3 separate regions of the Homo sapiens genome follow, and regions 1 and 2 are each linked to region 3. Evidence: promoter capture Hi-C in human tissues and cell types (Jung and others, 2019). All regions are on one chromosome and are shown on one strand. The core of a region is centred on a gene start or on the middle of the fragment in contact, and the rest is flanking DNA. Distances in the headings are between cores, read along the strand shown. Region 1 overlaps NFAT5 (nuclear factor of activated T cells 5). Region 2 overlaps WWP2 (WW domain containing E3 ubiquitin protein ligase 2). Region 3 holds the start of NOB1 (NIN1 (RPN12) binding protein 1 homolog).

What was found. The method cuts DNA at HindIII sites, captures the fragments that hold promoters and counts their contacts. A contact is called where the count stands out against the background at its distance.
Region 1: a contact is called between a fragment that was not itself captured here and the fragment with the promoter of NOB1 in region 3, in 2 of the 25 tissues and cell types used here (bladder and dorsolateral prefrontal cortex).
Region 2: a fragment that was not itself captured here is called in contact with the fragment with the promoter of NOB1 in region 3 in 1 of the 25 tissues and cell types used here (dorsolateral prefrontal cortex).

The regions. Positions count from the first base shown.
Region 1 is chr16:69,608,419-69,611,321 of GRCh38, forward strand. The region is part of intron 2 of NFAT5 (nuclear factor of activated T cells 5); the gene reads left to right. Among named protein-coding and RNA genes, the nearest start is that of NFAT5, 44 kb to the left of the region's middle. The HindIII fragment of the contact is 3,452 bases long and covers 1-2,903 here.
Region 2 is chr16:69,901,611-69,904,310 of GRCh38, forward strand. The region is part of intron 8 of WWP2 (WW domain containing E3 ubiquitin protein ligase 2); the gene reads left to right. Among named protein-coding and RNA genes, the nearest start is that of MIR140, 30 kb to the right of the region's middle. The HindIII fragment of the contact is 7,452 bases long and covers 1-2,700 here.
Region 3 is chr16:69,753,226-69,756,186 of GRCh38, forward strand. NOB1 (NIN1 (RPN12) binding protein 1 homolog) reads right to left here and starts at 1,701. Exons shown (of 9, transcript NM_014062.3): 1 at 1,623-1,701; 2 at 1,369-1,501. The coding sequence starts at 1,685. It also overlaps the pseudogene NONOP1. RefSeq lists enhancers at 747-1,370, 1,371-1,993. The HindIII fragment of the contact is 4,198 bases long and covers 1-2,961 here.

The DNA.
Region 1 (2,903 bases), core at 143-2,642, 150 kb before region 3:
CCCCAGACTCCTAGCTCTACCACTTCAACTTAAGAAGCTTAAGAAGACTGCTGGGTGGCCAGGCGCGGTGGCTCACGCCTGTAATCCCAGCACTTTGGGAGGCCGAGGCGGGCGGATCACGAGGTCAGGAGATCGAGTCCATCCTGGCTAACACGGTGAAATCCTGTCTCTACTAAAAATAAGTATATTGAAAATTATCTACCACCATGTGAAATAGTAGTTGTCATTTTAGTCAGGCTGTGGTACAGTGCAATGGCACAATTTCTGCTCACTGCAAGCTCTGCCTCCTGGGTTCACGCCATTCTCCTGCCTCAGCCTCCCAAGTAGCTGGGACTACAGGTGCCTGCCACCACGCCCGGCTAATTTTTTGTTATGTAAATATAATTGTTTTTTCCTCTAGGTTGAAGAATTTAGGTAATCTGGCCAGGTGTGGTGGCTCACGCCTGTAATTCCAGCACTTTAGGAGGCCAAGGCGGGCGGATCACGAGGTCAGGAGATCGAGACCATCCTGGCTAACACGGTGAAAACCCGTCTGTACTAAAAATACAAAAAATTAGCCAGGCGTGGTGGCAGGCATCTGTAGTCGCAGCTACTCGGGAGGCTGAGGCAGGAGAATAGTGTGAACCCAGGAGGCAGAGCTTGCAGTGAGCTAAGATCATGCCACTGCACTCCAGCCTGGGCAACAGAGTGAGACTCCGCCTCAAAAAAAAAAAAAGTATTTAGGTAATCTGCAGAAGAAGGTGGTTCAGGTCTTTGGTTGCTGTTCTTTCCTAGACTCTTCAGAAAAAAATGAATTAACTAGCAATGCTTAAAGAGGTAGTAAATACAAGCCAATCCATTTTCATTCCAGCTGCATTTCATGCTTCAGAGTAATGGCTGTTAGCCAGAATCACTTGTGAAGCTTTATACACATATACATTCTGTGATCTTATTCCCTGTAAACCCCTATTCAGTAGTCGGTCTGTGATGAAATCCCAGGCATCTTCATTCAGGTTAAAAAAAATATACATATGTCTACATGAAATTCTGGTATTCCCTGTTGAAAACCAGTCTTAAGTTAGAGGCATTCTGCAGTTGTACGGAAAGTAAGGGAAACAAAGTTAAAATGGAAAAAATTGAATTAAGAGGCAGAAGTAATGAATTTGATCATTTGTTCATTGCCACTCATTGTAGACACTTATTTTTGATCTCTGTAAACATCAGCTTATATCTCAAAGTATGAGGTCTGAATACTTGCTTGTGGGTGATCATCTTTGTGTAGAATAGAAAAGACAAAGTAGGACCAGGTGCAGTAGCTCACACCTGTAATACCGGCACTTCGAGAGGCCAAGGTGGTAGAATTGCTTGAGCCCAGGAATTCAAGACCAGCCTGGACAACATGGTGAGACCCTGTCTCTACTGAAAAAAAAAAAAAAAAAAAAAAGAAAAAAGAAAATATTAGCTGGACATGGTGGCATGAGCCTGTAGGCCCAGCATACTTGGGACATTGAAGTGTGAGGATCACTTGAGCCTGGGAGGTTGAGGCTGCAATGAGCAATGATTGTGCCACCGCACTCCAATCTGGACAACAGAGTGAGACAAGAAGAGAGAGAGAGAGAGAGACAGATAGAGCGAGTGTCTTGTTGAGTTCTTCAGTGTTGGGTCAAAGAAGGGAAAAAAATTGTGCGTATAAATAGAAAAAAAGAAAACTAACTTTTTAAGGCTTTAAAAATAACTGAAAGTGAAGACCCTGAGATATGAAAAGTGATTTTTGTTAATCAGAAAATTGGTGATTTAGGTGATAATGGGGTGGAAGTTGGAAGATAGGACGTGAGGGGACAGGGTATTTGGATTAAATATAACATAGAAAGATAACATTTTTAGTTCAGGTAGTAGGATATTCTGGTAATGACAGAAAGGAAAACAAGATGGGTTTTTTTTGGTTTTTGTTTGTCTAATATTTTTGTTTTTCATCTCTAAGATTATGGTATAAAAACAGGAATTTATGTTTTAGAATTGTTTGGGTAGAATCACTTAAGGTAGATGATTTGCTTATTCATTCATTTGTTTATTTATTAAGCACATTATTGAAATGCCCATTATGTGCCAGGCATAATAATATAGTAAGTAAAATAGATGGCATTCCTAACCTCAGTGTTACTCTAATTGCATAGACAGGAATGCTGGGGAAAGAATTTATCTTTCAGCCAGCTATTCTCCTGCCTGGGACCCAGCTTTAGCTAGTCTTGGCTCTACAAAGGAAGTTGTAACCTAATTGGAACATAATTTCTTCTCCGTAAAAACTGAGGGTTACACCAAATACTTTCACCACTTCTACCTCTAAAATTCTTGCTTTTAATGTGAATTTTAGATTAATTTAGATTAGATTAATCCCTTAAAACTACATTCATTACATTCATACCATTCTTGCATGGCCCTCTATATATTTCTTCTCTCCTACTACCTTTTTTCCCTCATAGCTCTGGTGTCTTGATACAGTTTTGATTGGCTATTTATGTGCTTTCAGTCAACCTCACTGGACTGAAAGCTTTTTGGGAGCAGACTCGGGTTTCTGTGAACATGTGATTTACTGTGTGTGTACCTATGCACACGAAATGAACAAATGGTGACAAAATTAGTTTTTTCTTATTTTTGAAAATGCTGTTGATCTTGTGAATTTAATATTAGACTGTCTTTCAAGATCAACAACAAAATAATATATGTAAAATAATATAAATTGTAATTCTGCTTGTTTCTTTTCATTGATAGATTATTATGTATGTTTACAAGGACATGATTAGTTTAGAAAGGAATGATTATTAAATATATGGTTATATAATATGGTTAGCTGTTAATAGCCATGGAACAGATCTCTATTCAGTATTGGTTTTATAAGCACTCAGCAAAATTCTGTTTTAAGTATG
Region 2 (2,700 bases), core at 200-2,699, 150 kb after region 3:
CACATGGTCTTATTTTCTAATGGAGAGAGTGGATTTTGATTGAGTTAGCTTTACTAATAATGCCCAGTGCTTGTGTCAGTGAAAAGTAAGCAAATTAATGAATAATACAAGCTGATAATGCTCTTACCAAGACTGAAATTTTGACCATTTTGGTGTATCAATTTATAAGGGCCACTTGAAAAGAATTGCTGTTAGCCAGGCGTGGTGGCGAGTCCCTGTAATCCCAGCTACTCGGGAGGCTGAGGCAGGAGCATCACTTGAACTCGGGAGATGGAGGTTACAGTGAGTTGAGATTGCACCACTGCACTCCAGCCTGGGTGACAGAACGAGACTTCGTCTCTAAATAAATAAATATATAAATAGAGAATTTATCTAAAATTCACTCGAACTCTTTGCCCAGCTTTAATCCCTTTTAGCTTAATCCTATTCTTGGTGAAATGTTGATTTGGTTCAAACAGGTGAATCTGACCAAGAAATATGGTGATCAGAATGGTTGAACACACACTGTAACAACGGGTAATTGAGCATTAATTTCCTGAAGACCTTTGGGAAACCTTTGACAAGAAAACATGGTTCAGGAGACCAGATGATTTCCTGTCTGATAACATGAGAGAGATGCTGATGTCATTCTAATAATGAGATGGAGATGTTTAGCCTTTAACCTGTGAAGATGGCAATTGTGAGTGGATTGGGACGTAGGGTTGGAACATGGTTCATATACAACTGAACCAAGGGCAGCTACAATCCATCAGTGCAAAGGTAATTTAGGGAAAGGAAAAAGTACCTAAGATTAATTGCAGTCAGACGGAGACTGCTTTTAAAGTACTTTGAAGTACAAAGACCTCGTGTAGTCCATGATCCAACCAAATGTTACTCATTGAAGGCCAAGGAGCAATGTGTTGGGTAGGGACTGAAAACAAGCTTGGTGCTTTGAACACTGTTCCTGAGAGCATCAACGGAAGCTATCGAGGGGGACAGGAGATGACCCATGTGACCAAGATGCAGTGTTGAGACCCGTGGGTAGTTTGATTGAAAAGCCTTTTAATCTCAGTGTGAAGGAGTTGCTTATAAGTGACAGAAATATAACCTCTGACAGGGATGCGCTGATGAAAAATTGATACCAGTGTCACTTTCTTGGCATGGGGGGGACCAAACCAAGACAGTCGGAGGCTCCATCTATGTGAGTCAGCGGCCACTGAGGAGGAACAGGAATCAGGAGGCTCGTCTGGTTGGTGATAGAATCCACCGACTGTGCTGCCTGAATGAAGGGGAGAGATTTGTGTGAATTATGAATAGCCATGCAGGTGAGGGAGGAGTGAGGTTCTGTGAGAAAGGGAGGCAGGCCAGGTCATGGATCAGGGAGGACCCGCAGGGACATTTAATCTGAGCAGGGGTCCAACTGCAAAAGGAAAAAATGATATCAAAAAAGGTGATGGAAGAAAGGTCTTGTTCCTCTGGCAACTATTCTTCTCGCTAAGCCAGTTGAGGGGGTTCATAGAAGGACATTGAGCTTTGCGGGACAATAATAGTCCCTGAAAGAGAGACTTTCATTTCCAGCATCAGCCGTGATCAAAGATGGAAGGGTGGGCCTTATCTGGGCCTGTGTCCTCTGAAGACCTGCTGAAACTGTTGAATATAAGGGAAGAGGACTCAGCACTGATTTCATTTCTGGCAGTGTGTGGGAATACCACTGTGTCAATTACAGACATTTATTTCATGGAATTTGAAGCATTAGCCTACCTTCATATTAAAACGTTAGCCAAAGTGTAATAAAATCAGTGTTTCTCTCCTTGTCTCAAATGAACATAAAAGATGTCAAAAGTGGAGACTGCTGATAAGATGAAAGTTGAAAGAATTTTTGGAATAAAAGAAAAATGGCCGGGCGCAGTGGCTCACACCTGCAATCCCAGCACTTTGGGAGGCCGAGGAGGGTGGATCACAAGGTCAGAAGATCGAGACCATCCTGGCCAACATGGTGAAACCCCATCTCTACTAAAATACAAAAAAATTAGCCAGGTGTGGTGGCGCATACCTGTAGTCCCAGCTACTCAGGAGGCTGAGGCAGGGGAATCGGTTGAACCCAGGAGGTGGAGGTTGCAGTGAGCCGAGATTGCGCCACTGCCCTCCAGCCTGGCGACAGAGCAAGAATCTGTCTCAAAAAAAAAAAAAAAGAAAGAAAGAAAAATGTGTTTAAGTTTTGTTTTTAAGCTCCAATTGCTACAACAGATATTTTGTCTTTATAAAAGGGGCAGCCCACCCAAATATTAGAGTTTTCCAAATAGTGACTGAAAAATGAGCGTACTAGTATTAGGGCTTTTGTGCCACAAAACTACCCAAAGAACTGTTTTCAAGGAAGGGAAGGATGCAGCTAAATTCTTCGGGAGTGCTGGAGAGTTCTCAGCTACTTAAATTGCATTAGGAGCAGATGTTATAAAAGAGAGGCTTGCTGCCATTGGCGCTCAGCGCTTTCATTTTTTAATACTTATCCTTAAGCCAAATATCTTTCTCAGGACTTTCTTCATTTCCAAATTCAGATGAATAAAGAGGGTATCAGATTTGCTCCTCTGTTACCGAGCAGACAGAAGGTATTTGGAGAATTGCTGTGAAGCTACAGTATGTCGGCTGTCTTCTGTGCTAGAAGGCCCTGCCAAATCCCCACAGACGAAACACCAGCCTCTTGAGCTGGCAATATTGTTACCC
Region 3 (2,961 bases), core at 451-2,950:
AAAAAAAAGTTTCAGATTTAGGAGCATTCTGGATTTCAGATTCAGTATGCTCAACTTGTAATTGTAGTAGTCTATGAGGAAACAAAAAGCATGTGCTTAATGCATAATACATGTCAGACTGCTGTTATTCTCCAGAGTCATCCATAATAAACACTTAAAATTTCCTGAAATTAACAGAAAGATGTCTCCTGCTACCCTGGTACAAGGAACACTAGGTATATTGCTCTTATTTCCTAAAAAACAGACATTAGCAGCAACGAAAATTTACTGTGCACTTACTGTGTACTAGGCACTGCATTAAAAGCTTTATGTGTTAATGCATTTCATCCTTTGCCATTCTTCAAAAGTACTATTAGTATTTCCTCGGAAAGATTTAGTAAGTTGGCAAAGATCACAGAGCTACTAAGTTGGTGGAGAAAATCGTAGAAATCACAAACAGAGGAGGTAACATCATCTCCACTATCAGCCTCTAACCTCTAAAACACTTCCAACCACTGAGGGGCCTTTCCTGGGTATCACCTTGATTCCCAACAAGAGAACAACGCTGACTCCTAAGCCAAGAGACAATTCTTTAATTTTCTTTATTTCTTATTTTTTTTGAGACAGAGTCTCGCTCTGTCGCCCAGGCTGGAGTGCAGTGGTACGATCTCGGCTCACTGCAACCTCCACCTCCAGGTTCAAGCAATTCTCCTGCCTCAGCCTCCCAAGTAGCTGGGATTACAGGAGCACACCACCACGCCCAGCTAATTTTGTATTTTTAGTAGAGGCAGGGTTTCACCATGTTGGTCAGGCTGGTCTCAAACTCCTGACCTCAGGTGATGCGCCCGCCTCGGTCTCCCAGTGCTGGGATTACAGGCCGTAAGCCACCGCGCCCAGCTTAATTTTCTTTCACATTTAATACAATGCAAAGCATTCCCTTTTTAAAGCTCTGCCAGGTGCAGATCTTTGTATCCAGTCATCAGCCCAATCTACTGAAAAGAAATGGACGAGAGTAATAGCAAGAGATCCAAACTCTTATTTTAAATCCAAATAAATTTATTGCTTGTCTGCAAAGTGCTTGACACTGAGCTGACTGCCATATTCCTCAGTTCATGCTCACAGCAACCTTGGAGACAGATACAATTATTATTCCCATTTTGCGGATGAGGTAAACGAGGCCCAAATTTGAATGCTATGCCCGAGAGCATACAGCTAGTTACTGGAGGACTCCAGACCCAGGAAGCCTCTCTCCTACCACAATCTCCTAGAAAGTGCTGGCTCTAAATCTACTGCTCTGATAAGGCAGCTAGACCCCAACTCGCACCCAACTGGGTGCCATCTGCGCCCTGGACCCCAGCTTCCCGTCAACGCTAGGGCAGAGGCACTCACCCAGCCGCACGTATTCCGGTAAGGGCTCCTTGAACCGCAGCTCGTAGGGCAGGACAGCGAGCCGCCTGCGTGTGGCCTTGTCCCGAATCTCAGTGACCACCTCCCGGATGGTGTAAATGTTCTTCCCGATGTCCTGCGGACAGAACGCCCCAGCTCAGACCCACCCGCACCAAGCAACGCTCCGCGCGACTCCACGCACTCCGGGAGGGGCGGCCAGCCCAGATCTCTCTCGTCCCGGAGGGAGCTCCCCGTACCTGCAGAGCCGCATGCCGCAGGAAAGCCCCAGCATCCGCCACAACGTGCTCCACTGGAGCCATGTTGGCTGCGTGAGAGGGGAGCGCGCATGCGCACGGAGCTTGCGCCGGCTCCTATGTCCAAGTCTGGGCCTCTGGGAACCAGGAAGAGCAGCCGCGACTTAGCTGCGCCTCCTGGCGGCCGCGCCAGCACCTCCCTGCTCTACTCGCGCGCATGCGCAGCGACGCCGCCCGCATAGCCAGAGAAGTGTGGGCGGGGTCAAACCTTGGGGGACACCTGGGAAATCGGCTTCAGCATCTAGACCTTAGTGCCTTCTTCACCTTTGAAGATAAAACCTGCCAGGTGTAGTGGTGCGCGCCTAGAGTCCCAGCTATTAAGGAGGCTGAGGCGAAAGGATTGCCTGAGCCCTGGAATGTGAAACCAGCCTGGGCAACATAGAGAGACCCCCATCTCTTCAATAAATAAATAAATTTAAAACCTGTATATATTCTTATGGTTAAAAGTCAATCAATACAGATTACCTAATTTCGTTATCACAGCACCCCTATGAGATAGGTACTGTTTTTTTTTAAAGGCTTAAAATGTATTTTAATAGGTCGATGCTGCATTACTGCTCCAGTTCTCAGAAAAACTCCAAATATATCAGAGACAAATCAAATACAATACACCAATGGAAAAAAAAGGCACAGCATGACTACCTAAGATAGGCGAGTCTAAGAGCTACTGTCAGACCTTCAGTATACAGTAACCCTGTTCCCAAGATTGTACTAGGCCTATCAAGAAAAGCTGTGAACAGCAGTATCATAGACACAAAAGGGTCATTCCTGGGTGTCCTCACCCAAGAAAAAGATGGAGGCAAGTTAACACAAGATTTTTTTTTAAAGATATACTAAAATGAAAATCTCTAAGAGAAAATGTCTTCTTTAGGACATGAAGGGGTAATATATGGGATATAATAGAACCGTATGTACGTTGCCTGTGACCTTTGTGGACGTTTACCTGAATTCTCACCTGGGAGTGAATGGAGCAATGCGGCTAAGGTCATTGGGGGATGTTTGGTTTTTGTGGTGTATGTGGCAGTTTCTCTGGGACTGGGGGAGTGTAAGGATAAGAAAGCAAGTGAGGTTGGGCACGGTGGCTCACCCCTGTAATCCCAGCATTTTGGGAGGCTGAGGCAGGGGATCACGAGGTCAGGAGTTCAAGATCAGCCTGGACAAGCTTGAACCCGAGAGGCAGAGATTGCAGTGAGCCGAGATCGTGCCACTACACTCCAGCCTGGGCGACAGAGTAAGACTCCATCTCGGGGGCAGGGCAAGCAAATGAAACAAGATGGACAAA